Regions from separate parts of the Homo sapiens genome. Here all the other regions are linked to region 1. The links are contacts of gene promoters, found by promoter capture Hi-C in blood cells and fetal thymus (Javierre and others, 2016). All regions are on one chromosome and are shown on one strand. The core of a region is centred on a gene start or on the middle of the fragment in contact, and the rest is flanking DNA. Distances in the headings are between cores, read along the strand shown. Region 1 holds the start of ETV5-AS1 (ETV5 antisense RNA 1). Region 2 holds the start of LINC02052 (long intergenic non-protein coding RNA 2052). Region 3 has its middle 14 kb from the start of CRYGS. Region 4 has its middle 16 kb from the start of LINC02052. Region 5 holds the start of DGKG (diacylglycerol kinase gamma).

Evidence for each region. The method cuts DNA at HindIII sites, captures the fragments that hold promoters and counts their contacts. A CHiCAGO score of 5 or more calls a contact.
Region 2: a fragment that was not itself captured here is called in contact with the fragment with the promoter of ETV5-AS1 in region 1 in 2 of 17 cell types (naive CD4 T cells and naive B cells); the score reaches 5.7 in naive CD4 T cells.
Region 3: a contact is called between a fragment that was not itself captured here and the fragment with the promoter of ETV5-AS1 in region 1, in 1 of 17 cell types (naive CD4 T cells). The highest score is 5.0, in naive CD4 T cells.
Region 4: a fragment that was not itself captured here is called in contact with the fragment with the promoter of ETV5-AS1 in region 1 in 2 of 17 cell types (neutrophils and megakaryocytes); the score reaches 5.7 in neutrophils.
Region 5: the fragment with the promoter of DGKG here is called in contact with the fragment with the promoter of ETV5-AS1 in region 1 in 9 of 17 cell types (activated CD4 T cells, total B cells, naive B cells and 6 more); the score reaches 9.8 in activated CD4 T cells.

The regions. Positions count from the first base shown.
Region 1 is chr3:186,075,692-186,080,739 of GRCh38, reverse strand. It overlaps ETV5-AS1 (ETV5 antisense RNA 1), which reads right to left and starts at 1,570. Exons shown (of 2, transcript NR_046594.1): 1 at 1,399-1,570; 2 at 1-180. ETV5 (ETS variant transcription factor 5) reads left to right here. Exons shown (of 13, transcript NM_004454.3): 7 at 636-923. It overlaps LOC124909470 (a long non-coding RNA gene), which reads left to right and starts at 931. Exons shown (of 2, transcript XR_007096205.1): 1 at 931-1,708; 2 at 2,526-3,918. RefSeq lists a silencer at 2,978-3,173. The HindIII fragment of the contact is 3,249 bases long and covers 135-3,383 here.
Region 2 is chr3:186,492,011-186,497,117 of GRCh38, reverse strand. LINC02052 (long intergenic non-protein coding RNA 2052) reads left to right here and starts at 3,457. Exons shown (of 8, transcript NR_033844.1): 1 at 3,457-4,012; 2 at 4,828-5,006. RefSeq lists an enhancer at 1,484-1,778. The HindIII fragment of the contact is 4,380 bases long and covers 225-4,604 here.
Region 3 is chr3:186,527,632-186,533,401 of GRCh38, reverse strand. No RefSeq gene overlaps it. Among named protein-coding and RNA genes, the nearest start is that of CRYGS, 14 kb to the left of the region's middle. RefSeq lists a silencer at 307-366. The HindIII fragment of the contact is 5,009 bases long and covers 965-5,770 here.
Region 4 is chr3:186,507,353-186,512,891 of GRCh38, reverse strand. No RefSeq gene overlaps it. Among named protein-coding and RNA genes, the nearest start is that of LINC02052, 16 kb to the right of the region's middle. RefSeq lists enhancers at 876-1,305, 1,866-1,955. The HindIII fragment of the contact is 4,287 bases long and covers 1-3,851 here.
Region 5 is chr3:186,358,618-186,364,220 of GRCh38, reverse strand. DGKG (diacylglycerol kinase gamma) reads left to right here and starts at 1,987. Exons shown (of 25, transcript NM_001346.3): 1 at 1,987-2,275. RefSeq lists a silencer at 1,828-1,917 and an enhancer at 2,702-3,219. The HindIII fragment of the contact is 2,154 bases long and covers 926-3,079 here.

The DNA of each region.
Region 1 (5,048 bases), core at 321-2,820:
ATACTTCTTCATGTCTATCATATGTTAATGTGAACTTTAAGCACCAGAGAAGTAATCTCCAAATCAGAATATATGAAAAAGTCTTGAAGCTTGTGCCCTTTACTTAAGAATATCCAGGCCCCAGGAATGAAGCTTTAATTTTAAATCATTCTTTGCTCTAGAAGATAAACATAGATTTGCCTGAAAGGGGGAGGAGAAGAGTTGTTAATTCAAATGATGTCACAGCACAAACAGACCTTCAACACATATTCTGACTAATTCCTGGGAACCCTGGAAATAGTTGGGAGAGGGGACCAGAGAACACCTGGCAAACATACATTCTCCCCTCACCCACCCACCCTACACAGGCATACACGGAGAATTCTTTTAGAAGGAGGGAAAAAGGAAACCGGAAGCAGAGGCTAAAATTATCCTTGAGAAAAATCACTAGAAGTGTTAAACAAGTCCCTGTGACGCAGTGTGTTTGTCACTTTTCAGAGGTACAAATATCCCCTCGGGGCTACGAGCGATTTAACTATGTTAATGCTGTTATTTCCTGGCAACAATGGGCTGCAAACTAGCTTTCTGCTGGACCTGGTAACCATGCTAATGGCTTCATTTCAGCTTAATGGTTCCTTCTCTTTTTCTGTTTACAGTGCCTATGATAGGAAGCCTCCCTCTGGGTTCAAGCCATTAACCCCTCCTACAACCCCCCTCTCACCCACCCATCAGAATCCCCTATTTCCCCCACCTCAGGCAACTCTGCCCACCTCAGGGCATGCCCCTGCAGCTGGCCCAGTTCAAGGTGTGGGCCCCGCCCCCGCCCCCCATTCGCTTCCAGAGCCTGGACCACAGCAGCAAACATTTGCGGTCCCCCGACCACCACATCAGCCCCTGCAGATGCCAAAGATGATGCCTGAAAACCAGTATCCATCAGAACAGAGGTGGGTGTTGATCTGGGCTTCTTCCTTAATTGTCTCCCTCACTCCTATCCTTTCTCACTGGGAGAGGGGAAGCAGTTTGTCTTATTTACCAGGTTCCTAAAAAGTTATCATTACATTGAGGCAGCTTGTGAGGCAAGACTAATGATAATACGAATATGACTGTTTATATACCACCCTGTTCCCAAGGTACTCCAGATGGTTGATGGACTACGACATCCTTATAAAGTAGGTAAGGGAGAGGTAACTGGTATTCTCCCGTCTCACAGAACTAGAGGAAGAATGACTTGCCAGGATAGTCTTGTCCCTCACTGAGGGCAGGTTCCTGACTCCTCATTGGATGCTGCCTACTATTAATAGAATTGAACTTCAGTTATTACCATTTCACTTACATATAAGGGACAATTGCTGATTTATACAAGGTAATATTACTTATCTGATTTTAACATGTTTTAACAGTAGGAGATTAGCTAAGGACCTTATTTGTACATCTGCTTTTGAAATAGAAATCTCCTGGTTACACTGCAGGTGGTTTTTACATTTCTACAGGCATTGAGGCATCAGGAGTAACTTGTCCAGAGTCATTCATTTGTCAAAAAAGTGTGTGAAGGGAACCTTCTCTGCACACTCCAAACCTGACCTCTTTATCTGTGGTATTCTAGAATCTCGGATGCTTGTGGCCTTCTTTTATAGAAGATGTGCTGGGGGCCTGTCTTTATTTCAAGTTTCTCTGGGATAGGGGGGTAGTTGTCAACAATATTACCAAAGGATGCAAGATGGTGGCCATGGTATTTCATATCTATCTATCTTGTGTTAGGTGGATCGGTGTGGGGGCCACAATGGGGCGGGAGTGGGAAGAATATATGAGTATACCTTTCCCAGGCCTGGTCCATTCCAGATGCCTACCAGTATTTACTTGGAGGTCATTTTATTTCTAGATGAAATGCAGGGGAAAAAATAAGGTCCCTTTGTCTGGTTCTGATCCCCTTCCCGTTTTGCTCTGAAAGTCACCATTAAGAACGGCAAAATATGGCTGGTTGCTGTTTATTCCTTGGTTAGGCCAAGGAACACGAACGCCTGTGTTACACAGGGCTCAAGGGGTGAGCACTGACGGGGTTGTGGGGGGCTGGCTCTGGAGTGGGCCTCTATTGCCACCGGGGACTCATCTGGAGGACACAGCTGCCGCTGAGCTTTTGGCAATTGTTACCTTGTACTAACAACCTGTACTTGTGCAGAAGAATTTGGTTACTTGGTTTTTTATGTAAAAATTGTAGACTTTTTTTTTTAAGTTGGCAACTAATTCAAATTAAAAACAACACCTCTGCAGACTAAACAAAACTTCTCTGGGCAAAATCACCCTGCAGGCCTGCCAATTTGTGAACTCTGGCCTAGATATCATTTTTATTTCAATGGTTTTTTGGTGTTTTTAAACAGCATCTTGCTGATTTTCTGCAAGGGTTATGGGGAAATTGGGGAGGAAGTGTGGGGTCGAGTATATATTCAGTATTTGAAACTCTTAGCAAACTTCTATTTGTTATACCATGAACTGTAAAAGAAAATTCCTTTATCTAATATTTCCCCCTCAATCCTTGTTTTTTATCCAAGGGGCTTATGTAACATACTGTATTAACAGTTAACTGAGTTGGGAGACAAATATCCTAGTTCTCCTGGAGAATTGGGAGATGGGTAGCCCCAGTCTCAGCTGTGAAATAAGCCTGTCTCCAGTCCACCCAGCCCCCTGAGAAGGAAGGAGTTTTGGATTCCTGGGATTGATGAGTTATTTGCCCGTGGGTGTTGAAAGGAAGAGAGGAGGGAACCAGAATGCAGGTATTTCTTTTCTTGGGTGATTCCTCCTTGAAGTCTGCCTGTGCATTTTGGACTTACTTCTTGTTATACTCTGCCTTTGAGACTGATGGGTCTAAAATTCAAAGCTCTCACACACACACTGGGGTGATACAGAGATCCTTGAGGTAATTGAGGTGAAGGGGGAGGAATTCTGTAGGTGACCAAATCGATTACAAACAACACTGGGCACTTGGATTTCCACTCAAGAGTGCTGTCCTCTCAAAGTTGAAAGTGCACAGGAGTCCCCATGGGAGTGTGGAGCGGGGATTTTCAATGCAGAGTCCTTGTTAACATTCAGAGATAGAGTGTGTGGGCCTGGGGCGGGGCCTGGATATAGTCTTGTCACACTTTGAGAAATTGTGATCCAGCTCTCTCTACCCTCATCCTTATTCCACCCTACCTTTATTTAAAGCATGTATTACCAAATTCTATTCCTACTGCCTTTGTCTATTAATATGGTCATCCACGTGATATCTATGTGACATAAAACGCATCAAAAACGTGACAGTGATTTTTCTTCTAGATACTGGATAGTACACAGAAAATGAGACAGACCAAAATCCCTGGTTTGATATTTGTAAAAGTAATAGAAATTACAGTCATGGATAATATCAAGCTTCATAATCACATATTTAATAACTTTTATGCCTGCCCAAAAGTGGGGCAGATTACTTTTATTGGTGACTATAGGTTGTCTCTTGGCTTAGAACTTTTTATTAAGATTAGAGGGACTATTACTTCAAAACGAAATCCCTAATACAAATATATGGTATTTTGCATGATAGAAGTAAAGAGAGTCTCATTTGAAACTTTTAACCGCCCTGTGACATAGGCAGAGTGAAAAAACCCATTTTATAGGTTAGAAATCAAGCCTCAGCACAGTTAAAGGACTTTCTAAAGCTCACATAGCCAAATACAGGGTCCTACATTCAGCAACCAAAAACTTCCATGACGTGTAATTACGCCATTTGTTTCAGTTATGATTTTATTTGGGCTGCTAACATCCACTAATGTCTACTATAAAAACTGAGTAATTGACCTTGATAAATTTGTTTTGACCTTGAACATTATCTGTTTTTTTATTATACTTTTAAGTTCTATCTATCTCTTCAACTACAAAATCTTAATAAATTCCTACATCATTTAATCCAAACCCATGTGCTTAACATGTGTCTTTTTTGTTTTGCTGGGTGTGCCGTATCTGTTCAGTTGAATAGAGTAAGCTCTTTGAGGATAAAAACCTGTGATTTAGACTCCTTTCTTTAGGCCACATTTAGCCTTGTACCTTATTTGTCCTCAGTATATGTTTATTGATAGTGATAAAAGTTTGCTAAAATTATACCGTAAATAGCTAAAATGTAATCTAGTCAAAAGTACACCCTTGCCACACATGGCGGCACACACCTGTAGTCCCAGTTACTTGAGAGGCTGAGGTGGGAGGATCACTTGCCCTCGGGAGTCCTGGGCTCTGTAGTACACTATGCCGATCTATCAGGTGTCCACACTAAGTTTAGCATCAATATGGTGACCTCCTGGGAGTGGGGACCACCAAATTGTCTAAGCAGAGGTGAGCTGGCCCAGGGGTCAGAAACAGAGCAGGTCAAAACTCCCATGATCTCATTGTGCCACTGCTCTCCAGCCTGGACAACACAGTGAGACCCCCATCTCTAAGAAAATAATGAAGAAAGAAAAAAGTACATTCTTAATGTTTTATATAGTCTTAGCATGTAATTCTTCACAACTCAATTTATTTTTAGAAGATAAATACTGTGTTTGAAAGCCATGATTTATACCAGTGATTTCCTCCCCACAAGGAGAGGGGAAAAGACATGTAATTTGACATGTTCAGACATGTGCCACTTATCCTGAAAGACCAGCTGAAAAAATGTTTTTTCCTTCAGCCTTCCCAATCTTGTGAGTTTTCTCATTGTGTTATTTATGATGTTTACATGTGCTGGGTGGAGGAACTTAGAAAAATATTCCTATAGTACTGGCCGTATATATTTTTGGCTTTTATTAAACCGTATCTCATTATATCTTGAGTTGAGGAAAGCCCTGCAATTCAACTGAAGAAGCTCCACTAAGAAAAATGTATCTCTAAGAATTTTGGAATACACTGCTTTCTCACTTACTTGACATCAACCAAAGAGGTTAAAACCCAAGAAGCAGCAACATTTAAGAAAATGCTCCTGTACCTGAAGAATCCTCTGCTTCTGGATAGCCCCTAAGGGCATCAGTATTGTGGTAGGCTAGCATGCTGTAATTGACAGAACAAAATGTGTA
Region 2 (5,107 bases), core at 1,165-3,664, 420 kb before region 1:
CTTAAAGAATGATTATTCTTTGAGTTAAAGCCCCGCAGTCACAGGTGGGACCATACCAGTGGCTCACATTTATATACTTTCATACTAGTTGATGAATAACCTCTGTCCAGAGCCCCTCAAGTCCTTTGGAGAACTCCAGCTGCCTTGGGCTCCTCCTACAGTCCAGCTGGAGGCCTCCAAAGGCTAGGGCTGAGGTTGGTTCTGATTGCTCATGTGGGTAAGCTTCCCCAAAGTCCTACTGGACACCACCCTTGGCTTACTATGTCCAGAGGACCAGTCTGTGCCTTGCATACACCTGGCTCCAAAGAATCCCAGGTAGGTACCTATGGAGTTACTTTGGTATTTTTCACAAGCTGTTGGCCTCTGAGTCAGCTCTCATTCCTGTATCTCCCCTGGCAAAGTGAGCCTGACCTTGGTTCCTGGTGCCCAGCTAATCCTTAGGAATGCATCTCCCAATCATCAGCCAGTCTCCCCTAGACTTCTCAGACAGCAGCCCCTTGTAAAAACTGCAGCCTCTGAGAGAGCTGGGAAAAGAAGGGGAGGTAATTTAATAATTACCCCTGTATACATGGGGCTTGTTCTATTGCAAGGGATAAAGACCCATTCAAGCTAGCTTGGTAGAGAGGATTTATTGTAAGGCTCCACATATAAGATTAAGGGGAGCCTCTGGGAAATCTGGGACCAGAAACTATATTAAAGTTTGCCTCAGTAATTCCAGCTGTGTATTCAAGGCAATTGTAGTTTCCAGGAAGCAGTTGCTAGGGGCCTTCCCTCTAATTTAGGGGTTGCACACACCAATACCTACACAGGCATGCACCAGTGCCTACATGGGGCAGGCAGGTAAGCTGAGTGTGAGCGTAACAAGGCAGGGTGGAGGCTGGTGGATGGGAGAACATATGGCCCAGGAAAAGCGGGCAGCTGCAGGCCCTAGCTCCAGCTGATTGCAGCCAGGACATGCTGACTCTGTGTTACAGAGCTTCTGGCTTTTTAAGAGAAGCCAAAGAGCTGGGTTTTTATGCAAAATATCCCAAAGTTTAAAGATTGGTAACAGATTCACAAAAATGCAGAACACGATATGGTCTGGATGAGATGAATCTTATTCCATGACTACCAGTGTTGTGCTTTTTCAGTTCTTTCACTATTGACCTGACCTGTCCTCCAATGACTGGGGAATTCCTTTGCTTTATTTTCGTTTTGTTTTGTTTAGACAGGGTCTCACATTGTCACCCAGGCTGGAGTGCAGTGGCACGTTCTTGGCTCACTGCAGCTTCGACCTCACAGGCTCAAGGAATACTCCCACCTCAGCCTCCCAAGTAGCTGGGACTACAGGCACACACCACCATGCTCACCTAATTTTTTGTATTTTTTGTAGAGACAGGGTTTCACCATGTTGCCCAGGCTGGTCTTGAACCTCTGAGCTCAAGTGATCCACCCAACTCAGCCTCCCAAAGTGCTGGGATTACAGGCATGAGCCACCGCGCCAGGCTGAATTCTTTCTTTACTTCCTATTCAGGCTCCTAAGGAAAGAAAACCAGCTGACCCAGCCAATCCTTTTGGGTCAGATCAGGTCAGGCCGTGTTTAGTTTGTCTTAAGGTCAGGGATCTACTCCTGCCTACTCTAATCAGCTGTGGCCAGCAGGCAAGACGGGATGTGGGAGCAAAGTGCATTCCCACTTTCGTATGACTCCAAAGCCCACTCTAAACTCCTGCACTCCATCCTGCCTCTCAGTTAGGTCAGAAGTCTGAAAAGGTCTGAAGTGACTTTTGTAGATATTACACTTTCCAAGAAGGGCTTTGGTGAAGAGGTATTTCAGCTTCCTCCTAAAGTGGCACCAGCTTCTTCTTTTTCTTTTCTCCCCGGCCCTCCACCCATGTTTTGTTCCATTTCTCCTAGTCTCCATACAAATCCAGCAAAGTGATTTTCTTGCCGGCTAGTAAAATTATAAAAACGATTTAAACTGCTCTTTTTCTCTCTTAAAACAGCTTTCTCCCTGTCAGTAAGAAGCAGGAAGATGAATGAAAGAAAACAGGTCAGCATTTCTAGCTTTTCAAGCTGTTTTTCAATAAGGAAAGAGGCAAAGAAAACTCCAGAGATGGATATGAATTGCATTGAAAACATTTCCTCCAGGAGAAAAGTCGCTGCTTCCCTGAGAGGGCTCATTTATTGATTTAATCAGCCTGCAGGAGCACCTTCTCCAGTAAAAGATGTTGAGTTGGAGTGGCCTGGTCTGCAGTGTGTGCTTACGGTGCTGATAGCACCACTGCCGCTGATGCCGACGGTGCTTTTCACCTGTGCCCACACGTGTGATGGGGGAAGATGCACCTCCCTGTGAATGCTGGCGTGCTCCATGTCACTCCAGGATGTCACTTGTCCTGATGTCCTATCTGAGTTCTCTGTAGGCATGCTACAAGAAATCTGATGACTTTGGGAGAAAGAAGATGATACATTCTTTTTTTTTTTTTTTTTTGAGACAGAATCTTGCTTTGTTGCCCAGGCTGGAGTGCAGTGGCTCAATCTCAGCTCACTGCAACCTCTCAACTTCTGCCTCCCGGGTTCAAGCGATCCTCCTGCCTCAGCTGCCCACATAGCTGGGATTACAGGCATCCACCACCATGCCTTGCTAATTTTTGTATTTTTAGTAGAGTCGGGGTTTCACCATGTTGGCCAGGCTAGTCTGGAATTCCTGATCTCAAGTGATCCATCCACCTCGGCCTCCCAAAGGGCTGGAATTACAGGCGTGAGCCACCGCGCCCGGCCAGATGATACATTCTTGATTCCCCCAAATTCCTAGAGTGTAAGAGCCAGAAGGACCCTCCACTCAACCCCTTTATCGTACAGATGAGGAAACTGAGGCCCGAGAGGCAACCTGCCCACTTGTTGTGACTGAGAGCTGAACCTCAAGGAGGACTGGTCTTTCCTATAAAACTCTCCCCTCAGAGTTGCTCTGGACTGATAGAGAAAAACGTGCACCCAGTCTCCAGGGGCAAGAGCAAGGCCCTATAAAAAGGATGATCTGTGTATTTATTCTGTCTCTTGTTGTCTTTGGCACGGCTCTGCCTGCCAGTCCTTAACCCTTTGCAGAGCTCTGGGCAGCGTCTCCATGGTGGATTAGGGTCTAATCACTAGGAGAAGGGCGAGGGCAAGCTCTTGAAAGAGTAGCAAATATGGAAAGTTCCCGAGTGAGCGTTAGGGGAGATGTACTGGGGGACCGGGGGGACGGACCTGGAGGGAGAACGAGGGCGCGAGAAAACCGTCTTCCAGGACTTCCCACCAGCGGAATGGCACTTTTGACAGATTTTCCTTATTTGTCTGTGAAGGGGATTCAGATCATTCAAGATGGACTCAAGTGGTTGCTAAGGCAACAGTGTTACAGTCGTCACTGTCATGGAAACCCGTTCTGTGGCGTAATATAAATATTTTCCTTTAGGAATGAGAAAGAGAGTTGAGTGGGCGACAAGTTGTTTTCTAATGCTCACGCGCTATGGCCGAAGTCTGCAATGGATGGGAGAAAGGGGAGGACCAAATTAGCTCAGATTCTTTACAGTTCACAGCATCAGCTGTTTTATTTATTTGTTTTAGATAGCGAAGCCAAAAAAAGTTGGATGGGGGCAAAAATGCCAACTAAAATAGCTCATAGTTCTGAAGTAGAGAGAAGTCAGAATTTCCCGTTTTCTCTTGTTTCTCTCAGGGATGGTCTATATGACTGGCGCTCCTTGGAAGCAGTGCTGAGGGCATTATCAAGAGTTTCCAGGGCCTCCTCTTTCTCCTGAAACCTTCTTCAAGGAGGGTAAAGTTTTAAGAGAGTTCAAAAGTACCACAGACTTCCAGGGAATAGTAGTTTTTGTCGTGACAAGCATGGACATTTTCTTGCGTCATGTACTATTTCAGAAGGTAGAGACCACAAAAAGGCTTCTTACTGTGGCCACCGTGGACATCTTCCCACATCTACAAGGTGTTGTGGCCACATCATTGCTGCACCCAGTTTCCTCAGAAGAAATACCTGTTGCTTAGGTGGGGAGACAGAACCCATTTACCTGGGAGGTAACTTCCAACGCCAAGATTCTAGAATTTCATGGTTCTTCTCTCAATAGTTTATGATTCTAACAGTCAATGGTTCTGTATTCAAAGATTCTCTGGTTTTATTATTCTAAGAGCCTGCTTTTAAAAATTGGGTGTCAGAGCAAGCCCCGAGGGCAGCAGCTGTGGGCAGGCTGGAGGAAATGGTCCCTGTTTAGGTGCTGCACTGGTCTCTGCATGATCAATCCCAGCGCCCAGAACACCGATATCAAGGCCTTTGCCTGGCTCTTCTCCAGATGGTTTTCTATTGCAGGAGTTTTGCTGGCAGAGAGCTTATGAAGAAACAGGCTTACAGAAGGCACGGCCAGGCTGCAGGGATGACTGGGACCTGAAAACAGCCAGCATCATCATTCTTGAAAGTTTGCTGACTTTCCTGTATTTATTTTCCATGGACTATGAGGAGGAGAATAATAGTGGTTCTCTAATCAAGGGGCATTCACAGAGGGGCCTAGCCAGGCAGCCTGACCCTGTAGACCTGCTCTGCTCCAGAGAACAGTGGAGGGGAGGGTGGCTTTGCATGGAAGCTTACACTATAGTAGGATGAAAAGATTGGCTTGGGAGACTGTGAAGGCTCAAAATTTTTATTCCAGTCTATCTACTAGCTCCCAGGGGATGTGTCTGGGAGAGCTCTCAGTTGTGTGATGCTGGGAGGAGCTTTAGATCCCCTCAGCCCTGGCTTACTGGTCTGCAATGGGAGAATAGCACAATTAATGGAGCAGACAATAACCAAATCTGTTAAATGATTTCAGGTTTAGAAACGAGGCATGTATACGTATTTAACAGTTCTCAGAATGTCAAGGATCCCTCCTCAGAGCAAGAGCTCGAATTTACAAAAGAAGCACTACCTCCTTTATCACATAGTAAAATAAAGGACCGTGTCTGCTCCAGGACATGGCTGGTTACAATTTTGTTTTAAAGAAATCACCAGGTGGGTGCATGGATAAGGGATCCTTGATAAGTTGTTTTTTTTTTTCCTCCTCACTGTGTAAACAGCTTTATTGCTGTTTCAGTTTATATAATTAACACTTG
Region 3 (5,770 bases), core at 2,220-4,719, 450 kb before region 1:
ACCTCTCCCACTTTCTAGTTGCAGGATTTGGGCAAACATACTTCTCTTAGTCTTAGATTTCTCATATGTAAAATAGAGGTAGTTATAACTACTTTGCAGCGTTAGATGAGATAATAAGAGAAAAGTCCTTAGCCCGGTGAATGACCCAAAGGAGCAGGTCCTGAATAAAGGCAGCTGTTTTAAAATATGGAATCTCTGGAAGGAGGAGACCTAAGAGGAGTCCCTTGTGGTAAACAGATTGGGAACTAGAGGGCTGTTTGTTTCTCCAACCCCTCTCTGCGTTAATAATCAATGATTTTATGAGATCATTTCTGGGAGTAAGTGGAGGGGAGGAGGTTGGGGAGGGGAGGGGAGGGGAGGTAGTGGTAGGGAGTACAGGAGAGCCAGAGAGCTCTGTGCAGCTGAGGGGGGTAGCTGATTGCACAGAAAGGGGAAGTTAATCTCCTCACTCTATTTCTGCCAGGCCTGTGCTGCCCACTTGGTCTTATCTCACCTAAATGATCTCATTTCCTTTCACTTTGGTCCTGTTTCCCCAGCACCAGTGTGCCCCTTTGTGAGTCTCAGGACCCTGGTTGAGTGGTTCTGGAATTGATTAGCTTTCAGGGGAAATACTGCCAGCACTTTGCCTTCTGGGACACAGCAGGCAGAGATTTATTCCTATTGTTCATGCCCCCACCCCCCTGAACAGGCCACATTAGCCTGTCCATTGAACCGTGGGGCCAGAACAATGGTGGGGCCTGGCTGTAGTGCTGACCTCCACAATTTCTGGGTACACACTGGATGGTTTGCTTGAGCTCACAGTGAACCTGGTGACCCTGGCTAGGCTAGTACTCCAGGATCCAGCACTCAGGACAGAAAGATGAATCTTTAGACTGTTTCTGTGAGCAGGGGGAGAGGAAAGGATGAAAGAAGGGGGAAGAGGGTTACCTGCAAGTTAGTTATAAATTAGAACCACTCATAAGCTTTTGGGGCCTCCCTAAAGGCCAGAGGTGCTAGCAGTTGTGAGGGAGTCACATTTACCTGCCACACTCACTGTGTCTTGCAGCCACTTAGCAGCAGCTCATATTTGCACATACTATTTCAGAGTTTGTAAGGCTCTTTGACATACGATACCTCATTTGACCCTCACCATGATTATGTGAGAAACAGGAGATAATTATCATTATTCCCATCTTACTCATGAATAAATTGAATCACAGAAAAGGCTCTGTGACTTTCAGGTGGATTACAGACTTTCTAGACCCCCATATTTAAGACCAGCCTGTTGGTGTGATGGGGGTTCATGCCAAAAGTCTTCTCTGTGATGTGACAATTTCAAGAAAGCCATTTTCCTCACACAAGTTTAAGGCATGCTTTCAGTGGACCCTATGGTTTCAAGTAATGTTAGTGAAATACAAGTGGGAAGTGGAGTGCTAGAGTTGGGGGAAAGTGTGAATGTCTATGAGTATGCACCTGGAAGACAAATAGAAATGTATTTATCCAGAAAATGTGCCACATATACTCCATGGAATACTATGCAGCCATAAAAAAGAATGAGTTCATGTCCTTTGCAGGGACACGGATGCAGCCGGAAGCCATCATTCTCAGCAAACTAACACAGAAACAGAAAACCAAACACCACCTGTTCTCACTCATAAGTGGGAGTTGAACAATGAGAACACATGAACACATGGAGGGGAACATCACACACTGGGGCCTGTCGTGGAGTGGGGGGCAAGCAGAGGGAGAGCATTAGGATAAATACCTAATGCATATGAGGCCTAAAACCTAGATGACAGGTTGATGGGTGCAGCAAACCACCATGGCACATGTATACCTATGTAACAAATCTGCATGTTCTGCATATGTATCCCAGAACTTAAAGTTAGATTAAAAAAATAATAAATGTATTTATCCATGGTTTTGCTGATCTTTTGCCCTCCTGCCCTCCATTTCTCTGGTTTCTGTCTGGGTCCTGCCATAGTGGAAGGATGAATTTGGCAGATCTGCAGAGCACAATGGAGGTTCGGGGCATACTCTTCAGGCACCTTTCCTTTTAAGCAAATCTAATCAGGAAAAATTTCAAATTTGCACAACCAGTAGATTAGGGGAAAATATTCACTTTTAAATGACCATGGGACTGTTTTTAAAATGTACACTCAAAATTTCAACAAAAATTCAGTGTTCATAGAATGTCTGTTATCAAATAGTTGTGTGTTAAATGAGAGAAAAATCCATAGGATGTTAAAAGTTGACCTATGCCTAGATTTATCAAAGCAGATTCTCTCAGGCAGTGACATTCTCACACTGTCCTTAGGCCCTGGGAAGAGGAGCCCTTCTCTGCCTTGGGGAGGTTCCTACATATCTCAAAATCTACAATAAAAAAACACTTTCTGTCTTTCCTGTCTAAATCTTTCTGTCTCTCTCTGTCTGGTTTGGTAACCAGTTGGGCGAAGGGAAATTATGGGAGAGGGCAATGGGCTGGAATACACTCTGTAGACTAGGGGATACGGATCTGAATGCTCAAGTAGGGAGGTGGGTGAAAGGAGAAAATCACAGCCTCTTCTCTGGGAAACTAGAGAAAGAGGGTCTGATTGATTGATCAATTGCTTACTAATTACTTATTTGAGGGGTTTGCTTTATTAAGGTATCATTTGCAAACTATAAAATTCACCCTTTTTAAGTGTTTGGTTTGCTGACTTTTGACAAATGCATACAATTGGCTAACTACCAACACAATCAAAACATAGGACATTTTCATCACCCAATTAAACTCCCTATGTCCCTTTGCAGTTAATCTCTGTCCCTGCCCCCTCACTTCCTGCTGTGGAATCACTGATCTGTTTCCTCTCCCCATAGCTTGCCTTTAATGTCATGTAAATGGAATCATGCAGTATGTAGACTTCTGTGTCTAACTTCTTTCATTTAGAATAATGCTCTTTAGATACATCTATGTTGTTGCATGCACAGTGGTTTGTTCTTTTTTATTAGAGTATTATTCTACTGTATGTAGACATTCTACTGTACGTATGGATGTATCCCATTGTTTTTTCTTTTCTTTTCTTTCTTTTTTTTTTTTTTTTTTTTTTTTTGAGGCGGAGTTTCGCCCTTGTTGCCCAGGCTGGAATGTGATGGCGTGATCTTGGCTCACCGCAACCTCCACCTCCTGGGTTCAAGCAATTCTCCTGCCTCAGCCTCCCGAGTAGCTGAGACTACAGGCATGCATCACCATGCCCGGCTAATTTTGTATTTTTAGTAGAGATGGGGTTTCTCCATGTTGGTCAGGCTGGTTCCATTATGTTTTACCATTCACTAGTTAAAGGACATTGAGTTGTTTCCAGAAAGGCTACTATGGTTTATAGTTGCTTCAAACCACCCAAAGTGGGTGTATAGCCAGGCTAGTTTCCCCAAGATAACTGTGCTCTTTCCCCTCTCTCTGCTCCAGTGATGGAGTTTTGGCAGGTCCTTAGAAATACCTGGAAATCCTGAGTTGAGAAAATGACAAGTGAAACCTATTTGCCTTGGCTTCCTGGGGATCTTGATTGTGTTAGTTTCTATCCTGGGTTCAGAAGGTCATCAGCTGGGAGTCCTGGAATCCACGTCCGGCTTTAGCGCCATCTTGTCCCAGCAGATCTGAGCTACTCCCAGGTTCACAGTTAGCAGGGGTGGCCTAGGGGAGGGCTTGGCTCCTTTTGCCTCTGGGTTGCAAGCTAGGAATGCAGACTGGCACTAGGAATAGCTTAATTTACAGATTCTAAATGTTTAGACGTCGCGTATGTGGGCGTCCGTTTGTATTCTTGCTCCAGGTCTGCAAATGTTAGGGAGGACCTGTTCCTGGCCGTAACTGGGGAGGACATCTCACAGTTTCTTCCTACACTCCTGTAACCAAATTACTCCATCAGGCACCAGTGGCCCTCTGGTGGTTCAGAGGAATAAATTCTTTACTAGAAGTACCTGCTTTGCTCCCAGGGTGTAGCTTCTGTGCTGGGAGAATCTTACCTCATTATTCCATCTGGTCCCCTGACTGACAGCAGCTGTCAGGGCAGGAGAAAACAACCCGTGCTTGGCAGTCCTCCTCTATGTCCCCAGTCAGCTTCCTCACCCACTCTCAGCAGCAGCTGCTTCCTCCTCACTCTCCCCAAGTCCCCCCCATCACATGGCCTGGCCTCCACAGATACCTCCACCTTCTACTTAGTAGAGAAAAGAAAGACGTTTGTTCAGCTTCCTCCCCACTGCAGCACATTTCTTCCTGTCTTGAATATATCAGGGTTCCCTGACATTTTGTTCTTGGTCCTCTTCACGCTTGACTCTCTCATGGATTTAGCTTTCCTCTCTTCCTACATATGACTTCCAAATCTACCTCTCCTGACTCATTCTCTCTTAGCTTCAAGATCCAGCCATCATCCTGTCCTTATCCTCTCTTCTCTCATATCCAGCTGGTTAGAAAATCCTGTCCAATCCACCCTCTGTGGATTTCTCAAAGCCATCCTCCATCCTCTGCCTCTCTGCCTTGTGCCTCTGCACACGTACTTGGTGTGTCCTCCCACAGGTCTCACAGCCTTCTCTGTCACTCCTCAAAAATCAAGAACCTCACTGCCTTCAGAGCATTCTTTCTACAACACAGTCATGAGTGTGTCAAATCCTTAATTTAAACCCTTCTAATCCTCTGGGTTCCAAGTGTTTGCCAAACAAAATCCCAACTTCCTGGACCATGACATATGTACTTCATGACACAGTACACAGAGGCATCCAGCAGGCATGAGGGGTGATATGGTTTGGCTGTGTCCCCACCCAAATCTCATCTTGAATTCCCATGTGTTGTGGGAGGGACCCGGTGGGAGGTTAATTGAATCATGGGGGTGGGTCTTTCCCAGGCTGTTCTCGTGATAGTAAGTCTTGTGAGATCTGATGGTTATTATAAGGGAGAGTTTTCCTGCACAAGCTCTCTTTCTTTGCTTGGTGCCATCCATGTAAGGCATGACTTGCTCCTCCTTGCCTTCTGCCATGATTGTGAGGCTTCCCCAGCCACATGGAACTGTAATTCCAGTTAAACCTCTTTCTTTTGTAAATTGCCCAGTCTAGGGTATGTCATTATCAGCAGCATGAAAACAGACTAATGCAAGGGGCTGCAGCGCCGCTGGAGGAAGGGGCTTGGGAAAGCCTAAGGCCTGCAGAGGGGCCCCTTAATTCCACCTGGCACAAAGGTTCATAGCTCTCCACTCCCCCAGTACCCTGACTCCCACCTCCGATCGAATATACTTGCAGTGAATCACATAATTTTCCAAGGGTGTCATGCTGTTTTCCACTGGGAATAACCCTCCCTACATTTTTTTTTTTTCTGTGAGTCTTCTCCTTATCATTTTTAACAGCTTAGATGTCCCCTCAGGGGCTTCTCTGACAACATACCTCTCTTCAGTGCTCCTGTGACACTCCAGCTTCACCGCTTCTCAGTCCATAGTATCCAGAGTAGTTGTTTCTCATCTCCTTTAGATTGTGAGCTCCTTGAGGTCAAGGACTGTGTCTTTTGCCCACATATCACCGGGGTAAATGTTTGTTGTTAAATGGGCATTTATCATGCACTTACTATGTGTCAGGTTATTTGTGTACTGTTGCCAGTACTGATACATTAGGAATTTAAAGAAACAAGAGTCCTCTTGAAGACCTAAAGTTATCAAGTATCCTTATCAAGGATATAGCAGAGATCCTCAAAGTCATCTTAATAAGACAGATAGGCTCCCCATCCTTCCAGTTTTACTGTATCCTGATTGGAAGCAAAAAATGTCTTATATGC
Region 4 (5,539 bases), core at 459-2,958, 430 kb before region 1:
AGCCTGGCTAGCACTGGAGTTGCCTAGGTGGGGACTGAAGGATATGGGGGTGAGGGAACTAAGGACCCAGGCAAGGCCACTGTGACAGCAGCGTCACGGTTTCTCAGTTCACATGCGTGGTTTCCCCTGCCTAGAGCATTCTCATGCGGCTGACCTCACCCTTCAGGACTCATGTCAGATGCCCTGGCCTCCAGAAGCCATCCCTGGCTTTCTGTGTCTGAGCAGCTCCTTTTCTGTGCTTCCACAGTCCCCAAAGCCGCCCTATCACAGTTCATATCACCAGCAGTCCAATGTTTACTTGGTTGTGTCTCTTATTAGACTGTAAGTTCTAGTTGAAGCCAGTTGAGTCCATGAGAGAAACAATGTGGGCTTTGGAGAGAGGGGGGTGTTGAGAAATAGCAGTGGCAACAGAAAGAACTCCTAAGAAAACATCACTAAAAACGCCACTATTGATCTCGTAACTGAGGGGGACAGCACATACATAAACTCATGCTTTCAAGTTTTTAAAACATGGCACAGATTGTGCCGGCCCCTTGCACAAGCCCCTCTGAGATGTTTCTAACACATTGGGAATAAAATTGCAAAGGCTCTCCATGCCCCCTGAGGACTTCCAGGCTCTGCTACTGTATTGTCCTGTCTCACTCTGCGCCTGCATTAGTGGGCTTCACGCTTTCTCAATCTCTCCCCATATGAGCCACTGTAGAGCCTTGGCTCTTGCTGTTCCCTCTGCCAGGGAACACTCTTCCCCCAGATATCAGCCTCCCTCTCTCCCTCTCTTCATCTGGTCTCTGCTGAAATATCACATCCTCAGAGACAACCCTCCCTGACCACCCCCTTACTCTCTGCCATTATCTGGCTTTCTTCTTCACGGTGCTGACCACCACGTGGCACTGTATTACTACTCAGCTGCTGATGGCTTACTGTCTGTCTCCCCAAGCAGAATGTGACACCACGATGGTGGGACCTTGTTCTTGTCCCCGCACTGTGTTTTCAGCACCTAGAACAGTGCCTGATGTGTGGTGGATATCCAAACATTATTAGTTGAATGTATGAACACACACCAAGTGCCTTTGAAAGGCAAAGAAAAATTTGAACTAGGAATGGGGTACAAGTTTGTCAGTACCCACAGCACCCCTTGAGCTCCACGGGATGAAGCACTGAGCCCCAAACAGGGGCAGGGCCAGGGCTGGAAGCAGCAGCAATGAGGTTCCATCCTCAGCACTGAGAACAGGGCCAGGGACATGGGATGGGTGAATGGAAGAAACAAGAGCCATGAAGATGCGTGTGAACCATGGGAAGTAGCCACTATGCACAGGGACATTGGGCACGGACACATGTGTTCAGCAAGTGTGGATTAACCCCACCCACACACCTATGGTCTCGATACTGAGTCAAGCACAGAGATACCTAGAGGAAGAAGACAGAAGTCTTCTCAAGTAGCCCGCAGAATAGAGGGGAAAACTGAGACATCAACAAGTAAAATGAGGTGTGACTGGTGCTGAAGTGGCCATATGATGTGGTGGTTACAATAAGCAGTTTGGGCCAGAGAGTAGCTCAGATTATGACTCAACCACACACTATCTGAGTGAGCTTAAGCAAATTATTTAACTTATTTTACAGAAGGGGAAACCAGTGACAGATTGGTTTCCTATAACCAAGGACAAATACCTGTAGATATGCTCAGTAAATCTCACTAAACCAATTATAGATTGGTTTCCCCATCTGTAAAATGGACAGCAATAATACCTATTTCATAGCATTGTGAAGATAATATGAGTGTGTGTGTACATAGATAGATAGATAGATGATAGATAGATAGACAACAGTACTTGGTACATAAGAAGTACTATATAAATGTTGGCTGGTATTTAATATTATTGTAAGAGATGTGTATATATGTGGAGACAGTGAGGGCACAAAGCAAGCAGGGGCAATGCTACCTGGGGTGTGGGAGCGGGCAGAGAAGACTCATACAGGGGAACCCCTGGAGCTGAAGCATGAGAATGAGTAAGTCTGCCACCTGCAGGGGAGAGGGGCCGTGTGAGGGGAGTGGTACGGGGGCTTGGAAAGCACTTGATCATATGTGGAACATCGGTTCAGAGGAGACAAGGGTGTAACAACCTGTCACTGGCAGGAGCAGAGGGTCTGGCCGGAGCAGAGCACAAGGCTTAGACCACCTCTGGAAGGGGCCCTTCCGAGGGGCCTGATTGCTGTTTCCAGCCTGTCCAGTGGAAGCAGCCACAGGATGGCTCCATGTCCCCAGAATAAACCAGGGCCCTTTGCAGCCTGACTGATTTTTCAAAGAAAGAAATGCAATTTGCTGGTGCTGGACAAGACATTAATTTTGTTCTGTGGGCTGCATGAGTCATTTAGGAACAAAGCACGAAATGTAGATACACTTTCCACAGCCTCTGCATGTCACTTCATGCCTGCCCAGGGCTGGACATTATTTCACGCAGCTCAGAAGACACACCATGGGAAAGGCCAGGGCTGGGCCCCTCCGAGCTGGAGAAACTGTGTCATAGACCCCCTGGGTCCAAACTCAACCCAACCCCATTTTGCAAGTTCAAAGAGAGAGGGGAACAACTGCCTCCTTTCATTCCATGGTGGGATTTTGGAGCCAGCAGGTGTGTGCTCCCACCTTGGCTGTGCTTCTTCTCATGTGACCTGGGACACCTCCCAGGACCCCTCAGCTTATCAGGCTTCCCATCTGGAAAGGGTGTGCAGGGACCTCGAATCAGAGCTATGATGAGGATGAATGAGATAGCACAACACTAAGGGCAAATACCTGCAGACTCAGAAATAGTGCTCAGTGAATCTTCATCCTGCTCCTCCCAACAGGTGTGGAGCACGGAGAAGATGGTGTCCTTTCTTATGTCTCTCCTCGAAGCCTTCAGGCCAGCCCCTTCCCTTCTCTGTACCTCAGTGTGGATCTGTGAGAAGAGGTACTCGAACCTGGTTGTCTCTAAGCACTCCATTGCCTTCCAGCGCTGTAGTCTAAACTGCTATGACTGCGAACAAACTTGCCTTGGGTGATGTAAAGAATGTGTTTGTGCCACTAATGGCTCCCAGCAGGTGTGAAATGAATCCAGGTTGTTGGTTCCAGTGGGCAGGTATTATTTGAATTGACAGTTACGTATTTAGGTTATGTATTTAGGGCTGAATCACAGACAGAGGCTGGAGAGAGGAACTAGCCCCTCCTGGGAGGAATGTGGCCCCTCCCAAGCCTACTCTCAGGCTTTATTGGTCCCCTGTGGGAAGAAGATGAAAGGACATTAGCTGTGTCTCAGAACAGGCGGTTTGTACCTGCCTAGAAGCAGAAGCAGAAGGAAGGCCCTCCCCACTCAGAGCTGTGTGACAAAATATCAGCCTTATTTCAGGCCCAGGACAAATTCAGCCTCCTCTAAGAAGTAGGTAGCCTGGCCTTCTTGAAAAAGCACATGTTTCAGACTCAGAATCTTGTCCTGGTTGTACCTCTTACTGGCTATGTGACTTCTGAGCAAGTTATTTAACCTTTCAGAACCTCAGTTTCTTCATTTGCAACATAGGGGTGACAATAATCCCATTCCTCACAGAGTTGTATAGATTAAACAAGGGGAGTATCCTACACATAGTAGGTACTCAACAAATGGCAGCTGTGTGAAGCCTTTCTAGGGCCCCCTCTGGTTGCAAAATCTCATCCTTCTCTATATTTCTATGATAATTGCTCAGTGGCATACTAGAGGCTCAGGACTGGTCATAGATTTGCCTTCATCTCTGTTAAATTCTAAGTTTCTAGGGAGTGAGGATTGCTTTAATTCACATCTGATCCCCCAGTGTGCCTGGCACAGAGTAGGTGTTCAATTAAAGCTTCCTGAATTAAATGGGATTCAAACTCCCAGAGAAGAAACCATATTTCTCTCCTTGCCAACCTCCTCGAACCAGCCTCGCTTCCTGGCTCCTGCTGTCTAGCCAGGTGCCACTGAGCCTGTGTGAGTGTGCAGGCCTGGCCCTCAGGACTGAATATGCCATGGGGACCCAGATCACAGGACAAACTTGTGCAGCGGGAAGGACTCAGGCCAGCCATGACCTGCCCAGGGGCCCATCTTCTGTCTCTTTAGCAATAAATCGTGAGGTGAAACAATCAAGCCCACCACACTCTGTTTAGGCCAAAGTAGCTGTTCTCGTCGTTTCTAATGGAAGCCTCCAGCAGAACATCACAGTTAATTGCAAAGAACGGTGAGTCACACAAAGCGGCCTGGAAGGAGAGGGCAGCCACTGTGAAAGGACAAAAAGTCCCACCAGAAGGCAGCCTAGGACCAGCTCCGGTGTCCGGGGAACTGCAGGGCATTCAGGGCGAAGGGCAGAGAATGATCATCATACACATGCTACCCCTTTAGGTGCCAGGGACCAAACATAGGTGATCATTCTATAATTGCCTTTTATTATTGTATTTGGGGGTTTTAAAAATACAAAACAAGTGCAAATAATATAACACATCTGTATACATAATTATTTCATCCTTGTGGCTGTGCTGTGGAGTGAGACATATCAGCCTTATTTATGGATATGAAAACTGAGACCTAGAGATCTTGTGGTTTGCCCAGTGTGCCAGTGGTAGCTGCACGATGTGACCAGAGCTGTCTACCACCAAAGCTCTTGCTTTGTTCTCTGAGCCATGGTGTGGTCCCATCTCCCACTCAGTGTGGGAATGGCCTCTAACATCCCTGACATTTGTCTTGCAGCCATGGTTTAACCTTTTCCAGCAATGAGGTGCTGATCACTTCACAAGCATAATCCTCCTTAATATCTAGCACTTTGATGATCAGTATATGTATATATCAGGCACTATTCAATGAAGCTATATTGAGCCTTTCTAGGACCGCTTCCAGTTGGAAAATGTTTTTTCTCCACACTTCTATGGCAATTGGTCAGTGCCATAGTACAGCAATATTAACCCTCACAAATACCCTCAGAGGTGGGTACTATTATTTCCTTCCCTTTACAAATGAGAACAGAAAGACTCGGTAACTTACAAAGGTCATGTGACTGTTATACAGTAGGGCTGGGACTTGTCCATGGTTGCTGCCTCCTAACGCAAGACTCTTGTCCACTATTCTGTCAGCCTCCGAGAAGTAGCCTACGTCGCTGCTATACTGCTTGGTTTAAAAGATTTTCCTGGCCAGGCGCGGTGGCTCACGCCTGTAATCCCAGCACTTTGGGAGGCTGAGGCGGGTGGATCACGAGGTCAGAAGATCGAGACCATCCTGGTTAACACGGTGAAACCCTGTCTCTACTAAAAATACAAAAAAAAATTAGCCGGGCGTGGTGGCGGGCACCTGTAGTCCCAGCTACTTGGGAGGCTGAGGCAGGAGAATGGCATGAACCCGGGAGGCAGAGCTTGCAGTGAGCCGAGATAGCGCCACTGTAGTCCAGCCTGGGCAAAAGAGCGAGACTCCATCTCAAAAAAAAAAAAAAAAAGATTTTCCTTAGTCTGATCCAAATCTGCTGCCCTAGAACTTCTACCCATCGGTTTCAGTTTTGCCCTATGATGCAGAAA
Region 5 (5,603 bases), core at 738-3,237, 280 kb before region 1:
AAGTTGCTTGGCAACCCTGTCCTCAGAGCTCCTCCCCTCTCGTTACCCTTCCCCAATGTGCTCTCAACGAAGCTAAGGCTCCACACTCAGTCTCTGCATGTCTTCTTCATTTGTTCCATTCAATTTATTTCCTTCCTGTCCTAATAGGCAGAGCAACTCAATGTTGTCCTAACACCTATTTGCAAACATGTACCCCAAGTCCATTATGATGCTCAGCCAAACACAGGGTCTCCTTCAGTTTAGCCTTCTTTAGAAGGAGTCAAGAATAGACAGCCAGAATGTTTTTCTTGTGACATGTATGTGCATTTTCCTCCATTGAGCATGCAGTCAAAAAAAGCAAGGATTGTGTCTTCCACATCCATGCAACCTAGCAGAGTGAAAATATATACCAGAAACCTGTGCTCAGGGCTCCTCTCTTCCAGGGATGAGGACAGTTCTAAGCCCTTTCTGTCTCTCAGTTCTTCTTTCCTCCCAAGTAAGGCCCAGGACTGGAGTTACGGGGAAGCACCTGAAGACAGAGTAGGAGTTTAATAAATAGCTGTAAAATGAATGAGTCAGTGACTGAAGAGGAAAAAAAGAAAGGACAAGGAAGAACTTTGAAGGCACCCTCACCAAGATTATTTCAGCCTAGCTGAAGGAAACTTTGAGAAGCCACCCAGGGTGATAGAATGGATAAGACCCAGAGGATAAGAGGAGTCGCAAACACGGGGTTCTGGTATCAGCTCTGTCTTCATCACTGTGTGGAATCTTAAGGAGATCTCTCAGCTCTGTTTCTCATCTGTCTCACCAGCCTGCCTGCAGATAGCCTAGTATGGACACCACCCAACAGGGTCCTCAGGGCTGTTTGACATTCGTGTTTGAGGCTTCTTCCCCAAATGCACAGACACCCAGAGCCCCTCGGCGCCTCCACACTCTGCGGAAAGCTTTTCTTGGCTGCAGTGCTGGCCCGGGGACCTTCACTGCCCACTGGCAGAAAAGAATTCTCGGCTGTGGAAATGAGTAAACTCCACATATTTTAAAGATGACAGTCTAAACTCCTAATGACTCTAAATGTGGTGTGAAATGGACAGCAGTCATCTTGCTGTGTGACATGCCTGAAATAGTGTCACCACCACCATCACCCCCTCACGTGGACATGCACGTCATGGAAAGAGAAGCAACAAGTCATAGTGCCTTGGCTAATGTAGCTCCCCTATTCCCCCCGACCCCTCACCCCAGCGTCTTTTCTGTGCTCTTCTACATTTTAAAAAAAGAAGAGATCTATTTATTCTGCAGGAATACAGTCCAAGGTCACCTAAAAGCAAAGGAGAATGGGAATTAAACACACCCAGAGACCCGACCCATCCAACAGAGTCCAGCTCAGGCAGGCTGTGCCAGTCTCCACCAGGCTACGAGGGGAAAACCTTTTCGAGTTGAACTGCCACCAATCCACTGCCACCGAAGTCAAGGTTGTCAGAAATGACCCTCTGGACAGGGCTAGTGATTTGGATCCTAGAGATACTGAGTTCCTGGGAAACAAAGAGAACTTGTTGATTTTGTATTTTTATTTTTTCTTCGATTTGGTCGGGATATTACGGTAGCCTTGACCAGAGTTGAGAAAAGGAAACGCCCAGTCGGTATTTATTTGTCAAACAGTTGTCCTTTGCCTCCGGGGTCAGGGGCCCTCTGGTACCCACCACTGTTGCATCCTCTCCACACTCCTAAGCCTGTAACTCCTCCTCCCAAACCGAAGCCCTGTCAGTAAAAAGCGTCCTAATGATGCCCGCGCCCTAGTTGCACCAAAGGGGGTCAGGTTCCCATCGAGCGGATCCACATTCGTGTGTGCGCACGCGTGTGCATGTGTGGAAGCGCGTGTCTGTGTGTGCCGTGTGTGTACGCGCGCGCGCCGGTGTGTGTGGCGGGGGCGGGCTCTGCGCCCGGGGGCAGGGCTCCGCAGTGAGAGTGGCAGCTGGACTTGCCAGGCTGCGAGGGGCAGGGCACAGAGCCGCAGTGCCGTAGTAGCGGGCCACGGAGATAGACAGCTTTGGAGCTGCTGAACTCCGAGCACAGGGTGAAGACCCCGGCGCTACCAACCACAGCCTGGCAGCCTGGTCTCCGCGGCACCCACTGGGGCTGCATCCCCCTCCCCCGAGAGGGCTGCGCAGGCGGGAAGACGCCCAGAGGCCAGCTTCGGTCCCCCTTCTGTCTCTCGGTTCCTCTTTCCTCCCAAGTAAGGGAATAAACCGCGAAGAAGGAGCGCCCCGGGCCACCGCGCAACCAAGTGTTGCCTGGTGAGGTAAGACGGCGGCCGGCGCGGCGGAGGGGGTCCCCGGCTCAGGGAGCACCCGGTGCAGCAACTTGGTAAAGGAGGGCAAAGCGGGAGCCGGTCCCGCGGCCAGGGAAGGGGCTGCAGCCAAAGCCACGGCGCCCACCCCGACAGTTCCACCTGCCACAAAGCCCTGCAGGAAGGGATGCCCCGCTCGAGGGGTGCAGGCTTGGGGAACGCACAGGGTGGGGCTCGGCTCTCTCTGCGACTGAGAGGCCCCCTCAAGCCTCAAAGCTGTGCGGGTGGGAGGCGGCCTTGCTCCAGGCAGTTTGCTAAAGCAACTGGTCGGATTTCCTTCTTCTTCTGGACTTAACCTTGGCTCCTTGATATCCAGTTCGCGCTCCAGGCAGTCCGAGAAGCAGGAGATGCTTTTCCTAATGTCTGGCCGCCAAAGCCTCCGACCGTCCCGCGGGGTTCTAGGACTTTGGGGGCACTCCACAAAGCCCCTGCGCAGGGCGACTTAAAGGGAAGCTGAAGCGAACACGGACACCTCAGAGAATAAAGGAGGGAAGGGTCGAATCTGAGGTTGATCTGTGTAGTCTCAGAGTCACAAGATGTGTCCGTGTGTGTGCTTGTGTCCTGAGGAGTGCGTACCCGGAGTCACCTGTGGTGCTTTCGCAGACTCCACCGGTCCACCTCCCCTTGCCTAGTCTGAGATTTTCTTCGTTTGAACTAGTGGAATAGAATTAGGGGAGGGGGCTGTGGAGTTCTAAAAAGCCCTACAGGTGATTTGACGTGCTGCCCCCATCCCCACCATCACTGCAGTGGAAAGCTTGGGACTAGAGCTAGAACCACCTCCCAGATGGGAGGGATGAGCTGCGGAACTCAGGGTGGCGGTCGAGACCCCTCCCCCAGTCGCCCCCCGCGGCGGGAGCGTCTGCTGCAGCGCGAAGCGATCTGTGGCTGCGCCGCAGTGGTGCCCGGGAGCGCTGTGAACCCGTGGGCGCGCTCTCCCGCGCTGCGCCGCTGCCTCCTCGGACTTCATTAGCATACGATGACCTCTCTGTGGGGAGGAGGGCCTGGGAGGGCTGTTTGTCATTCCTTTATTTTGGGGGCTTGGCGACGACACTTTGGATCTGGAGGTGAACACCAGGGGTCATGATGAGAGACAGTGGTCAGGACACAGGACTGGAAACGACCCCTCTGGTCTGGATGGGGGAATCAACTTTGTTATTTTGGTGCTTGGGATTCTCTGTCTGTAAAATACAGCTGGCAGAGCCACTTGCTGGCACACAGGGCACCCTGGTTGTCAATGAAGGAAATTAGATCATAGAGGGCAAATGTCGAGGTTTGGTCATGAACCCAGGCACAGACACACACCCCTTTATATTTTATGTCCCTCTCACTCTCATTCCAGGCATGTGTCTAACATGGGAAGGTACTTAACTGTTTGTCATATTAAAAGACTACATTTGCTGGAGATTCCATTCCGAATATGAATTATACTCCTTAAATAAAACGGCTGCAACTAAGCCAACTTCCCGGTCGTACTCCTGATCTATGTCTTTTTTGCCAATCACCCTTAACGTTTACACCCAGCACTATAGGCATTACTACAGGTATTTTTCTGGGAGGGGCTTTAGGGTGGGAAGCTAGTAGATGAGTCTTTCCTACCTTAGAATTTTATGGAGTGGTTGGTTCAGATCAACCGAGACATGGGGAGAAAACGACAAACATCAGCGTGTCTTGAAATCTAGACTCTCAGAGATGGGAGTAACTACTAAGATCATCTGTTCCAGCTCCCCCAACTGCTCCAACTCCCCACACAACACCATCAACAGATGGTGAGGATCCCTCCAACCCGGACACTCCCAGAGGCCCAGGCTGTGCATGTGTGAGCCTCTGCGAGGAAAGAACCCAGAAGCCAGCAACTCTCCCCTCTCCTACTGATGGGAGTTGGTGGATGCTGGCCCCATCTCCTCCCCTGGAAGAGAAGGGGGAAAAGGGCGGGGAAGTACCTTTTCTTTGTGGTAAAACTTTAAAACTTTTAAAATGTATATCTTATTGTATTACATCATTATAATGTACTCTTTTAGTATAAAAGTAATTCATGTTCATTGCCTAAAAATTGGGAAGTTGAAAAGTATGCAAAGAACAAATCAATCACCCATGATCCTACCACTCCCATCCCACACTGTTAATATACTGGCATATTTCCTTTCCATCTGTTTTTATGCCTCGAAATTATACAATCCATAGAGAGCCAGCATTTATTGGGTGCCTAATAAGTATACTTTGCATGGTGTTAAATTTTATATTCATTATATCCTTTAATCCTCAGGAGTCCCTCTGAGGTGTTATTACTATCAATCCCATTTTTCTAGGGTTGCATTTTTCTAGGGTTCTAAGACTTCAGGTGACTTGCCCAAGTTACATAGCTAGTATGTGGCAGAATCAAGATTCAAACCCAGGCTGTCTGACTCAAAAGTATGGTTGCTGAGCCCCTGTAGCTATTGGTTCTCTGCTTTTTTCTGAATTAGTGTTGTAGCAAAAGACCTTCATGAACATTGTTTTCCTGGCTGCATATTATTACACTGTTAGTTATTTAAGTTGCTTCCTGTCTTTAGCAACTACAAATAACTCTGGGCAAAGTCTTTACTGCACACACTTCCCATTACTTCCTTTGGATAGATGCCTAGAAATAGATCACCAGGCCAAAGGGCATGAATGTTTTAAGGCTCACAGTATATATGAGAAGCCACTTTTCAAAAAGGGTACACTAATTTAGGATTCCATTCACCAGAAACAACTCGGCCATAGTTCAAGCAGATGACCTTTAGGAATCCAAATAGGCCAAGGCCTCACACGACCAAGCCACATCACACGAGCATTCTTCAGTCTCATGGAAGAAGGAATCACACATATCACCTTGCTTTATACACTCGGGAGGGATTATGGAAACCATACAACATAAAGCTATACCTATTTTTATGTGAGCAAGTATCAGCTGCAGAATTCTCTAGCTAAATGTCACATACTAACTTTGAACAAATCAAACCATCATGTAAAATATACAAATGTGTATAATGTCCCACTTCTCCATACAAGTCATTATAACAACATTCACTCTTGTGAACGTGCATCATGATCACAGCCAGGTTCAGCAAGCTTAACCCATCAGCAACAGCTTCCTCACATACTGGCCATATTCAAAGAGTTGTTTATTTGTACCAAGTATCAGAATTCCACACCCAACCATAGTGAGAGCTGATGTCACTTTATAAGTAACAGAGTTTGTCTGACTAAAAAAAAAAAAGAAATCAAGGCTAGTAACTATTAATAGTAATAAAACAATTTA